Linked DNA regions of Homo sapiens: region 1 is linked to region 2. The links are contacts of gene promoters, found by promoter capture Hi-C in blood cells and fetal thymus (Javierre and others, 2016). All regions are on one chromosome and are shown on one strand. Each heading gives the region's core, a stretch centred on a gene start or on the middle of the fragment in contact. The rest is flanking DNA. Distances are from core to core; before and after follow the strand shown.

The links. The method cuts DNA at HindIII sites, captures the fragments that hold promoters and counts their contacts. A CHiCAGO score of 5 or more calls a contact.
Region 1: a contact is called between a fragment that was not itself captured here and the fragment with the promoter of LINCMD1 in region 2, in 1 of 17 cell types (neutrophils). The highest score is 9.8, in neutrophils.

The regions. Positions count from the first base shown.
Region 1 is chr6:50,813,017-50,819,506 of GRCh38, reverse strand. It overlaps LOC124901490 (a long non-coding RNA gene), which reads left to right and starts at 481. Exons shown (of 2, transcript XR_007059923.1): 1 at 481-605; 2 at 1,863-2,262. It overlaps TFAP2B (transcription factor AP-2 beta), which reads right to left and starts at 636. Exons shown (of 7, transcript NM_003221.4): 1 at 535-636. The coding sequence starts at 615. The HindIII fragment of the contact is 2,729 bases long and covers 2,135-4,863 here.
Region 2 is chr6:52,148,936-52,155,369 of GRCh38, reverse strand. It overlaps LINCMD1 (long intergenic non-protein coding RNA, muscle differentiation 1), which reads left to right and starts at 4,347. Exons shown (of 3, transcript NR_131248.1): 1 at 4,347-4,488. It overlaps MIR133B (microRNA 133b), which reads right to left; the gene lies at 6,329-6,434. RefSeq lists an enhancer at 2,225-2,519. The HindIII fragment of the contact is 4,773 bases long and covers 3,936-6,434 here.

The DNA.
Region 1 (6,490 bases), core at 2,250-4,749, 1.3 Mb after region 2:
CTCTATCCATCCATATCTCCAGCCATCTACTTCTTTCCCGCTAATTCTCTGTCCTCTACTTGGAACCATTTGTTATCAATTTCAGAAATTTTATTGAAAATAAAAATTAAAAGCCCGAGTCTGTTACAAATGAGGCTTGAAAACCCAATTCTCTTCCACACTTAAAACGAGAAAAGCCCCTGACTTTATCAGAATCTCGATTTTCTCTGAGAGCGTGCCCACATTCAGTAGCACCACATTCCCCATCAGAGCTTAAAAGGGTGGGGTGGGGTGGGGGGAGGCGAGGAAAAGGGAAAGAAAAATAAAATAAATAAAAACATTCCTAAATTAAAGTTGTCAGATTTCAGCCTTAAAGTCCCTTTTCAGAGCAGCGAAGTCTTCCCTAGCCAGCTTTTCTAAAAGTTAAAAAAAGCTGAGAAAACCGACCGGAAATCTACGAGTAAATAGCTTAAAAATATATATCATTTGGGGTATCAAGAAGCTCAAATTCTCTATCTGCAAAGCTCTAAGGTGCATCTGGGGGTGTCGACTCACCTCATAGATATCTTCGTACTTGACATTCTCCACAAGCTTCCAGAGCATGATGGCAGCCTGGTCTCTAGGAGGTGAGTGCATTCATGTGAGGAGCAGATGTCTGGCTTCTCAGGACTCCGCTGTCTGTAATGATCCATCTATAATTGGAAATGGGGGATACACACCAAATCCGACGCTCCTCTCCCATCGCAACTTATATCTGTTGTCTCAAACAATAGGCTGGACAAGTAAGCCTCAGCAAAGAGAAAAAACATTATTGCACACACAGGAGTTAGATGCAACCCACAGACATATATACTATAAAAATCATAAACCCGTATTTACACCCAGACACCCACATATAGTTATATAAGCACCTCTGGGTCACACAGTCTGCAGACTCCAAATGTGCATTTAACAAAGAGTTGTTCAGGGTGATTAATATAATATATACATTTTATAACTTCTATATCGAAAATGACACATCATTGTAGCCACTAACTGAAGTCTTTGCAATTCATAATGAGAAACCAGGGGCCATCAGTCCCCTATTTTCTATGTAGATTTTAAAGGGGGACACTTACCAAGATTTTTAAACACAAAAGCTCCCTCCTATTCATGTATGTTCCGGAAGAGAGTATTTTGAAAGGCTGGATATGGGGGATTTTAAGGACTATCTCTGTGTTGATGGCTACACAACTTTTTTTTTTTTAACTTTATCTCTGTCACCATAGAACAAAAAAGCTAGCCACCGTTGATGACCATTTCTAATATTTTCTGGTCATTTTACCTAAAACCTTTGGAAACTTAAATACACCTCAGTTTGTGCTGCTTGTTATTTTAGGTGTTGTTTGTATGCATTTTCAACGGATTCCATGCACCATTCCTCTTGGCTGGAGTCTCCATTTTATCAAGTTTTTTTCAGATGTTGGAAGCAACGTACGCACACGTTCAGACAAGGTTAATTTTGAGCCTTTTTTGCAGAGGCCAAGGACATTTTATATTTGCATCTGTTGTGTATGACTTGTAAGTGGTTTTAATCATGGAGAGTCAAGAAAGGGCCACCCGAATCTTTGAAAAGGTTTAAGCAGAATGTCTTCAAAGAGATAGTGAAAAATATTTTAGTGCATGTGGAGTTTCTTCTTTTTTTTGTATAATTTTTCTTAATAAGATGATTCATATAGTTTTTAAAAAGGAAAACATCATCAGCAACAAGAACAATATTAACCAGACTTAGAAAATGGGCACCATTTAAGGCGCAGGGATTCTGAATTTTATCATGAAATGAATACTCATCTGTTCCCCTGTTCCCCCTTTCCCATCCCCTCTGTTTTTCTACTCCCTTTCAGGGTGCGGAGAGCTTCTCATAGCCGGAACAGACGCCCAGAAGAGGATCTCTGCGCCTGGGACAGAAAAGAAATGCCAGGAGGGACCGAGGAGGGATGGGGCAATTTGGGGTGGAAGTTATTAAGCCTGGTGAGAGTGAATCTGCAAAGGGTGATTGTCTTTAAATCCAGGACTGCTGTGTGCAGCTCTGCGCGAACAGGGATGGACGCTGTTTGAGTACAGGGCTCCGGACAACCTTGTTGGACGTCGATTCAATCAAAACCAAGGAGAAGCTTCATGAACTGCAGAATAAACAATTCTGCAGATTTTTAATTTAATTTTTAAAGATAAGTCAAAGGAAAAGAACACAAAGAAGGTGCTTCAGAAGGAACTTCAGAAATAAACCCCTTATTTCCGGTTGAATTTTTTATGTTTCGTCTTTCCTTTTCTCCTCTTCCTCCTTTTTGTTTTCCTTTTTTCTTTCCTTCATTTCCCTTTTCGTTCCTTCCTTTCTCTCTCCATTCCTTTCTTCCCCTTTAAATGTTAACCTTAAATCATACACAATCTATACAGATTTTTCACTAGGAGCATCAGCAAAGATTTTCTTCTTTGCTTCCAGAGCTAGTTAGGAGATGAGAAGGGATTTTTCTTAATCTTATTGTGTGGTGGGACTTGAAACGGGTTCCACACCCCCTGACTTCTAGAACTAAAATCAGTGCCAGATCAATAATCTGAAAGATAAATATTATAGACTTGGAAGTTCAGATTCTCCAGGCACAAGACATTTAATTAATGGAAATAATTGTTTTCTCCCTTTCAAATCAATAATTCTGTCATTGTTATTACCTAAAGATCATTACAACCCAAATAAAATGCATTTGGAAAAATCTCACTTTTTTTCTCTAAATGCTTTTAACACCTTTTAATATCTTTTTGGTATATTATTGCCTAGTCTAAAATAAATAAACTCTGAGATTTAACAAAACAAAACCTGCAAGAGATAATTTTACACATAAATTAAAATAATATAAGGTATTGTGTTAGTATAACTATTTTATAGCCTTATATATGAATAATTTCAAACTTTTTATGTGTAATTTTATTTTATGCTAGTATTAGGTATTTTTTAAAGTGGAAATATCTTGAGATATTTGGTTAAAATTTAAGTTCTTTAGGAAACCTGAAAAATAACAAATCTGGTTTTATTAAGAATGAAGCATAAACCTAAAAATATACACATATATATAGAGAAATACCTTCAAAATACATAACCATAATTAAAATCCTAGTTATTTTTTTTAACGTGGGCGTTATTCGAAAAGTCCTAGACATTGCAAGGTAAACCGTTCCCACGGACCGTTCCCTGTCATTGAACGGGCAACAGCGCCCTCTGTCGGAATTTTATAGACGCAAACCCTGCAAGTCTCCTTGATTTCTTTTTCGGCAAAGGTTTCTTTCCGTTCTTGAAAACCTGGTATTGAGAGGAACATTTTTAAAGTTCACTTCTTATGATATTTACTAATTTTAGAAACGATCGTTCCAGCATCTAAAAAGTTCAAACGCCCGAAGAAACGCACAATAAAAGCTCAGCCGCTACGGAGAAAATTTTTCCTAACTTGAACCTACCTCTCTTGCTTTTACTTTCTATTACCTTTCGCGTTATCACTCAATCACATGACGTAGGGAAACTATTCCCGCAAGAACTCAGTAAATGGAAACACAAAGGCAAAACAAACTCTGGATTTGAAGGAAATTAAACGAGTAAAATATGCATTTTCCTCGTTATTTTATCTTGCCTTATGTCCATATTTCTTTTTCAGGTTACGCACATGCTCTCCTAGGTGGAACCGCACTTGAGACATCCCAGATAGTTAACACTCGTACTTTCCTCTTTCATTTGCATTTATTTCAGTTTAAAACAGCAAAGAAAAGAATTATTCATACCCTCTTTTTTTTTCAGCCTCATATAGAGGGAATATTATTCAGTAAATGTCGGAGTCTATAATTAAAAGCAAATGCACCCAGCATGAAGCCCTCTGCTGGTGATTTTCGAAGTATGTTCAGGACTGTTTTTTAAAAAATGTACAGAAAAATATCATTATTAAATCAAGGTCAACTAGGAGCACTTTCATGTCTTCTTTCATCTTTCTTCTAAAAATCTAATTATGAATTATCTAAATTTATTTGACTTCCTTCCTTCCACTAGCCCTCACCTTTGCACCTGTGGGTTAACACTCCATGAACTATCTTCCTTTGCAGATGCCCACTGTACCACCTTTTCTTTTTCCATTACACAGTCTCCCTGGGTTTCCCCTTTCCATCTACCCAACGCACAAAAATAATAAAATTAGAAAAGTCAAGAATTAGAATTATTGTGCCAAGTTTGCACCCTGGCCTTTCTCATTCTAGGCGGTGGGGCAGGCTATTTAATAGCCTGAGGTTCAGTGCACTGAACTACAAAATGGAAATGATTGTGAAAATTTATTAAAATAGTATCTGTGGGTAAATATATGTGGTACTATTGCTTCATAAACAATTTAACTTATCATCATTGTCTCAAAACACTTAGCGGGGGGTCAGGAAAGTGGAGGCTTCTAAAAACCAGGGATTTGCAATAAACTCCTGGTTAGAAAGTGGAGGTGGGAAACCCAATATAGGTCTTCAGACTGTGTACTCAACGCTTTGCCCACAGTCTCATGATGCTGTCTTACTTCTTTCCTTCTGAAGTTAAGAAGACAGTATTTTTGGATCATTGAGTATGTCCAGGGTTATTTTTTATAGTCCTGGATTTATAAGTAGGCAAAGGAAAGAAGAGAGGAAGGAAAAACTGTCTTACTTCAGCATCCTCAGATATTGCCCCACCTCTTACCCATCAGAAGCATTATTGTCTGCTGAGTTGAATAATAAGACACGACATCCATATAACAGATCTTGATAAGTTAAAAAATGATAAAACATGACAGCTCCATTTTTTACTGTTGCAGTCTGGCTCCTAATTTTCCTACCATGTTTCTGTCTTAAGCTTTCTCATGATTATATTTTTGGGGAAGATTCAGTAGGTGTTTTTATCATCAATTTGGAAACAAAATACTGTTGAATGTCTGAAACTACAATTTAAGCACCTGCCTTCAGATTTCTAGGGCTTTGATACCATATAGGTTTCAGTGACTTGGTATGAGGAAACAAAATAGGAGGGACTAATGTTTGCACAGGAGTGTTTTTAAAAAATGAAATGTGGGTGGGGTTATCTTTAGACTGACTCTTCATAATTATCGAGATTGAGGCAAGCACTAAACAGGAAAGAGCATTTCTTACTTTAATCATAATATTTAGTTGATGGTACATTTGTAAATTTGTAAAAGATACTGAGTTGAAATCACTTGTGAGAATAAAAATAACTGTAACTGTGAAAACTCACCCTTTCCCTGGGACTTTTGAGGAGCAATAGTAATTTCATTATAGATTTTAGATGTCCTGATCCCCTTAAGCTTTTCTGTTTAACTACGGGGGTATGAAGTGGCTAAGGGGACAGTTTTGAAATTCCTATCTCTTGGAGGTAAAGAGGTTAAGGAAAGGAAGATGAGGGGCTGAAGCAAATGATGCAAACAGCCATGCAACAATTGTTTTCAACACCAATGGGCATTTCACATTCAAAATGTGAGAGGTGTGTGTCTCCTCTGCCATGACTAATGCAGGAGGACAGGTACTTTCATCATTGTGGATGTTTTCCATATTATTGCTTTAAGAAGGAGAAATCTTGAAGGGTGAGAATACTAAACAATTTGGTTTCAAAATGCAACCAGTAGACCAGTACACATCTGTGAGGAAAAAAATTTGCAAATAAAGACTTTGAAAGATGTAGAGCAGAAATATAACCTTTAAAGCATGAATAAACACATACAATGTATAGCATCAGAGCTGAAGTGTCTCATAAATACAAGGGACATTTGGGAGAAATTAGCATTATATTGGAACTACTTCCTAAAATTCACGATTTGACATTCTGATAAAAATAGGGAAGGATCTTCATTTTATGCCTCTTTTTTATTTCTTTGACATAAGATGAGTTTTTCACTTACCAGTTATATTCCCTTTGGCAAGTCCTCTGACCTTTCCAGATCTCAGTTTTCTCGTTGATAAAATGAGGAGAATTCGGCCAGAAGCTCATGCCTGCAATCCTAGCACTTCGGGAGGCTGAGGTGGGTGTTTCACCTGAGGTCAGGAGTTTGAGAATAGCCTGGCTAACATGGTGAAACCCCGTCTCTACTAAAAGTACAAAATTACATGGGCATGGTAGCGCACGCCTGTAATCCCAGCTACTTGGGAAGCTGAGGCAGGAGAATCGCTTGAATCTAGGAGGTGGTGGTTGCAGTGAGCCAAGATCACGCCATTGCACTCCAGCCTGGGGGATAAGAACAAAATTCCGTCTCAAAAAAAAAAAAAAAAGGAGAATTTACTAGGTGATATGCAAGCTTCTTCCATAGGAATGGACTTTATGAAACTGATAAAAGCATCAAGTAGTAATTAATTAATTTTTTTATTTTAAATATTACTCTTTTGAGACAGGGTCTCACCCTGTTGTCCAGGCTGGAGTGCAGTAGCGTGATCACATGAACACTGCAGCGTCACCCTCCTGGGCTCAATAAATCCT
Region 2 (6,434 bases), core at 3,098-5,597:
AGAAAATTCGTCCTGCTTGACTAACGTTGGGCTGGAATTACATCATTGGATCTCCTGGGTCTTCAGCTTCCTGCAGATTTTGGGACTTGTCAGCTTCCGTAGTCACATGAGCCAATTCCCTGCAATAAATCTGTTTCTGTTTCTCTGTCTCTCCGTGTGTGTGTGTGTGTGTGTGTGTGTGTGTGTGTGTATGCACATATATGTGAATATGTACTTATATATTCATATATATTGGTTCTGTTTCTATCTATAAAATAATTTACATTTTTTGTGAAGAGACTATTAGGTTGGTGCAAAAGTAATTGTAACTGCAACAATGCAATTACTTTTGCACCAACCTAATACCTGGGTGTGGTCCGGTGAGTCAAGCTGTGGAATGTCAGGAAATTTGGCTGTGAGTACATCGGCTTCTGTATCTTGGAAGTGTGGTTTCATAAGTGTAATTCCTGTTTATAATACTTTTTTCTATTAAGAGAACAATAATTCCTGATATTTTGGTTGAAAACTCTAAGTACCTGAGACCCACTTATTGGCCTTCTATGAAGAAAGAACTGAAAATTATTTTGGGGTGGATGAAAATGCAGCTATTCTTAGTTTCCCCAGAGGAAAATTCAAGAGGAAATGGGTTTACACAGCAGTAGGGGGGGGTTTATGTGGGGCATAAAGGAGCGTGTTCAGGACAAGGTTCTGTCAAGAATGTGCATGGAGCATGTTTCCTTGGCATACAGGATGGTCAGAGCAGGGACCACACGGGGTCTTGGATGACATAGTGTCTAAGGTGACCCCACCGACCCTTCCCCCAGCTCTCCCTGTCTGTAGGGATTTAGGGGGACACTGAATGGTGATTTAGTGAATGGTGAGTTAGGGTAAAACTCAGCCTTGTTTTTGAAAGAGCCATTAGGTGAAGGAATGGCCAGATGTACAGCAAGGATGGTGAGATCTGATTCACAGCAGGCTGCCAAACTTCATCTGCCATAGTGACCTGTGTTCTCTCCTTACATATTTTTATTGTTTTAAATTTGGATAGCCCTGACAGTTGGAAATTGGGAGTGGGGCAGGGGATTACTATTTTACATTATAAGCTTTAAAAATTTAAACCTTGTACATGTATAGCTTTGGGAAAAATAAAAAGACATAAAAATAAAAAATCTCTGTGGCTTACTTTTTGTTACAAGTAATACATGCTAGCTGGGAAAAATTTAGAAAATTCAGAGAGGCCGTCCTCCAAAAATCCATTGTCTAGAAATATTTACTCTTGGACCTTTGGTCTAGATTCTTCCATATTTTTCTTAACATATACATACATGTATTTTTCTTAAAAACAGAAATGGATTGTGTTAGTTTCCCTTTGTGAGTTAACAATATGTCTCCAGAGTGTCAAAGGGTATATATTTGATGCTATATGAGTTAGGGCACTTTTGTTTGCAAATGATGTAATTTCAGTGTTAAGTGCCTTAGGTAAAAAGGAATACAGAATATAGGAACTGGGCCTTGGGAACAACCACGTCCAGGACTGAAATACCTCTGGGGCTCTGTATCTGTTCTCTCTTTGGTTTCTTTTTAAGTAATTGGTTCATTCTTATCTCTTACTAAGCACTACTGAGAAATACTGGGAATAATTTTGAAGCTTCACATCTTTCTATTTTAACTTTCCAAGGAAACACAGCTTTAATTTTTATAGACCAATAATCCAAACTCCCATGAAAGGGCTCACTAGGATGGCTTAAGTTAGAGAAAGGTGCATGGTTGTAAAGGTTCTTGGGGAAGCATGGTGAATGGAGGGAGGGAGAGGTAATTTTAAGAATAGCCAAGGGGGCTGGGTGCAGTGGCTCACGCCTGTAATCCCAGGACTTTGGGAGGGCAAGACGGGTGGATCATGAGGTCAAGAGATTGAGACAATCCTGGCCAACATAGTGAAACCCCGTCTCTACTAAAAATACAAAAATTAGCCAGGCGTGGTGGTGGGTGCTTGTAGTCCCAGCTACTTGGGAGGCTGAGGCAGGAGAATCACTTGAACCCAGGAGGCAGAGGTTGCAGTGAACTGAGATTGCACCACTGCGCTCCAGCCTGGCAATGGAGCAAGACTCCATCTCAAAAAAAAAAAAAAAAAAAAAAGAATAGCCAAGGGAGGGAGACTGAGCTGTTAACAGAGAAAGAGAAGATTCTGGGCAGAGAAGATAATAGCCTTCTTGATGCCTATGTATTGATAAATGATGCTTTGAAGAGTATAGACCTATATTCACTCCCAGCTATGTATGAGCTGCTGTTTTCTAACAGTCTTGCCAGCCCTGGGAATTACCATCAGAAAGAAACTCGTTGATGGACTGCACTAATGGGATTTTCTTGTTTGTCTGGATTCCTGCCAGTTAGATAGCCCCGCACTATTTTCCGTCAACTCCTTCCGGGGAAGAGCTCCTTCAGCACGCCTGTGCTATCACTTTCTTCCTCCCAACACTCACCAGATGTGGGGGTGGGGTCCATTCTGAGGGTGACCAAGAGTCGTCATGTTTGACCGGTGTGACATCATGGGCTGCCACTTACTGGCACAGGACTGATGATGATACAGGAACACACATAAAGGGACACAGCAGCAATCACAAAACCACACACCCCACTGGGTGGCCTAACCTAGATTTCTGCCCTGAAGAGGGGCTGTGGCAGGATGAGCAACCGCAACCCGTGGGCAGCAGTCCCCATTCTCTGATTCCTCTTGATTTCTTACGGAAATGGAGAGTTTGGGCTTGTGGGACCTTTGAACATGGATATCAAGGTCATTCAAACTTACCAGAAAACATGTTTTCTTAAAGGTTCTGTCTTTTTATAGTGGTGAGTGGGAGCAGGAATACATTTGCTCCCCTCCTGGTTTAAGGAAAATCAAACAGAAATGTGAATGGAAGTTGAATTCTCCAGGAGTGAATAAGAGGGGACAGTACGATATTTTGACTTTGGAGGCAGGCTATGACTAGAACTCCTTCCATCCTGTGGCCCTCAAAGATGTGTTCTGCAAAGACCCTTGAGGGCAAGGGGATAGGTAGAAAGTTGGATGACAATGTTCACTCATGTTCTCCAACCCTTGCCAGAAGTGTGCTAGCTTGCTCCCCTTCCCTCTCCTCCCCTCCTCTCCTTTTCTTTTTCTTTATTCCTTTCTCTCTCCTTCCTTCCTTTCCTTTACCTTCTTTCTCTCCCTCCCTCCCTCTCTCCCTTCTTAACTTCCTTCCTTCCTTCCCTCCCTCTCTCACTCCTTCCCTCCCTCTCTACCTCCCTCCCTCTTCTTTCCTTCTTTTTTTTTCTTTTGTTTTTGAGACAGGGTCTCACTCTGTCACCCAGGCTGGAGTGCAGTGGTGCCATCGCAGCTCACTGCAGCCTCAATCAAACTCCTGGGCTCAAGCGATCCTCCCACCTCAGCGTCCCCATCCCTGTGCCCAGCTAATTTTTGGTATTTTTTGTAGAGATGGAGTTTTGCTCAGGCTGGTCTTGAACTCCTGAGCTCAAGAGATCCGCCAGCGTTGGCCTCCCAAAGTGCTGGGATTTATAGACAAGAACCCTCATGCCTGGCCTGGCTGGCTTCTTTCTAACAGAGAGAAGACATTATTTAGTCTTAGCCTTATATGTCTTGTCCAGTTTTATCAGGCATTTTAGCCATAATATCCCAAATATGAAAGTGACCCTTTTTTAACACTCCTTTTACCTATACCTGGCATTGTTATCTAATCTTTACCTACATGACCTCTGCCCTTCCAGATGGAAAAGATCCCTCCTGTTAAGGACAGCTGGTATTTGGCCACATCATGTTTGTTTTCTGTTCTGCCAGGTGACTTCCGGGTGACAGCTCTGCGACTGCGCTTCAAGATCACCCTGCTTCTACTCCCAGAGGCATACCCCTAGTTCGCAGGGAAGTTCCATTTCATCACAGACCTGGGAAGCAGAGAGAAGCTTGTTGCCATCCTTCCCCCACACCTTACTACTGCTTTGAACCAGTGTGCTGCATTGAAAGAGATAAGTAGAAATAGTTGAACCAAAAATTACATGATCCCATAGTTTGTGCTTAAAATAAACAAAGAAGCTGATCTTTCAGTGAACATGTTTTTATTGAACACCAACTTAATTTCAGGAACATTTCAGGTACATTGTCAGAAATAAAGACTCTTAAGAATGTATTATTATGTACCCAATACTGGTTTCAGGCCTTTACATGTATTCTCATGAAACTCTATGAAGTAGATATTATTATCAATATTCCTACTTTACAGATGAGGAAACCCAGGCCTGGAGAGGTCAAGCAACTTGCTCAAGTGGCACAGCTGGAGAGTGGGGAGCTGGGACTTGAGCCCAGGTAGTGTGTCCCCAGCACCTTCAACTAAACTCCATTCTGTGCTGCCCTTTGGAACACCCACTCAATGGCCTTCACACTCCATGTCCTACTTGGGAGGACATGTGATCTCAACAGCACTCACAAATGAAGGCTTTCCAGACAGGATATTGAAGATGGTAAGATCAGTCTCATGTATAAAGCATTTTTTAAAAGTAAAGCATATTATATGCTAGTCATATGTACTAGGGTGAATGCATGTATGCTACATGCTAGTAGAATTAATAGTTGGAATATAAAAATACCCTATAGGCTGGGCACGGTGGCTCACATTTGTAATCCCAGCACTTTGGGAGGCCAAGGCGGGCGGATCACTTGAGGTCAGGAGTTCAAGACCAGCCTGGCCAACATGGTGAAACCCTGTCTCTACTAAAAATATAAAACTTAGTCGGGTGGTAGTGGTGCGTGCCTGTAATCTCAGCTGCTTGGGAGGCTGAGGCAGGAGAATCGCTTGAGCCTGGGAGGCGGAGGTTGCAGTGAGCTGAAATCGTGCCACTGCACTCCTATCTGGGCAACAGAGTGAGACCCTGTCTCAAAAAATAAACAAAAACAAAAACAAAACAACAACAACAAAAAACAAAACCCTACAGTGAGCAATGAGCCTTTATGTATTTTTTGAGTTCTTCTCCTATTTTTTTTTTAATTTGGCTCTTTCCTTCTACATACAAGTGCCTGTGGACACAGCATTGTCCTTGTGCTGTTGCCATTTACAGCAGTAAAACAACAGCTACTATTTCTTAAGGGCTTATATTTGGCTCTTTATTAACACTGTCTGTTTTAAGCCTTACGGTAACTGAGGTTGGTATCATTGTCCCCATTTTACAGATGAGTAAACTAAGGCTTGTGCAATGTTAATTGAGCTGCGGAGAGGATATATCACAGCTAATAAATTAGAGGGGCAGCATTCAACCCCAGGTCTTCCTGAATGCAAAGATTTGTGCTAGTAAGCTCTGTGTTCTCCTCTGAGGTCACTGTGGTGGGCTCTAGGCACTTATGCTACCCCATTTGTGTCAGAATACAGCATGTGAACACACATGTCTATAGAATTTTAAACCCAAATATTTACTTATTACTGTCTAAGTTCCAGACACACACCATAAAAGATACAAATCTTAAAAGATAAACTGGAAGGACAGGTCAGAATTCTCCCTTAGTAAAAGGTAGCGATTATGAGAACTTAGCTCATTACAGCCTCCATCTCCTGGACTTAAGTGATCTTCCTGCCTCAGCCTCCCAAGTAGCTAGGACTATAGGTGTGCACTACCGCATTCAGCTAATTAAAACAAAAAAAATTTTTTTTTGGTAGAAACAGCATCTTGCTATGTTGACCAGGCTGATCTGGAACTCCTGGCCTCAAGCAATCCCCTGTCTTAGCCACCCCAAATGCTGAGATTTTAGGCATAAGCCACTGTGCCTGGTGTGACAGGTACTATTATCCCTATTCTACAGATCAGGGAACTGAGAAATGATTGCTTAGTGAATAGATATCTTGGGCTGAATAGATCAATAGAGACTTGATGATACATAATGTGCTAGGCATATTTGGTGGGATAGGTAAGAATTATGCCTTGGAACTAGCCATGCTATAACTTGCAATTCAATTGGATCACACCATATATACATGTCTAATTTCTTTCCTTAGACTGTTAGCCCCTAGTGAGCAGGAGCCCTGTCTTCTATGTCTCATGCTCTTCCCCTGGCTGGCTTAGGGTTGGCACAAACTCCATCCTCAAACTCTTTCTTGACTGTGTGTCTGTCAAAAGCATGTAAGTGGCTGCAGCTGTGAGTGCAAAGGCACAGAACAGTGTGTGTTGAGCATTAAAATCTTGCTCACTTTTGACTCCAGGACTCCTCTTCTCTTCCTTCCTGGGAGCATAAGAATATGGTGAAAAAACCAGAATTGTTTTCTCAAGGAAAGTTTTAGTAGGTAATTTCAGTTGCAGTTGAATCTCTTCTGTTTCTCCAAGGACTGGGCATTGCCAGCCCTGCTGTAGCTGGTTGAAGGGGACCAAACCTCTCAGGAAGACGGACTTGGTTCCGTTTGACCAGCCAGAGCAGGGGGCAT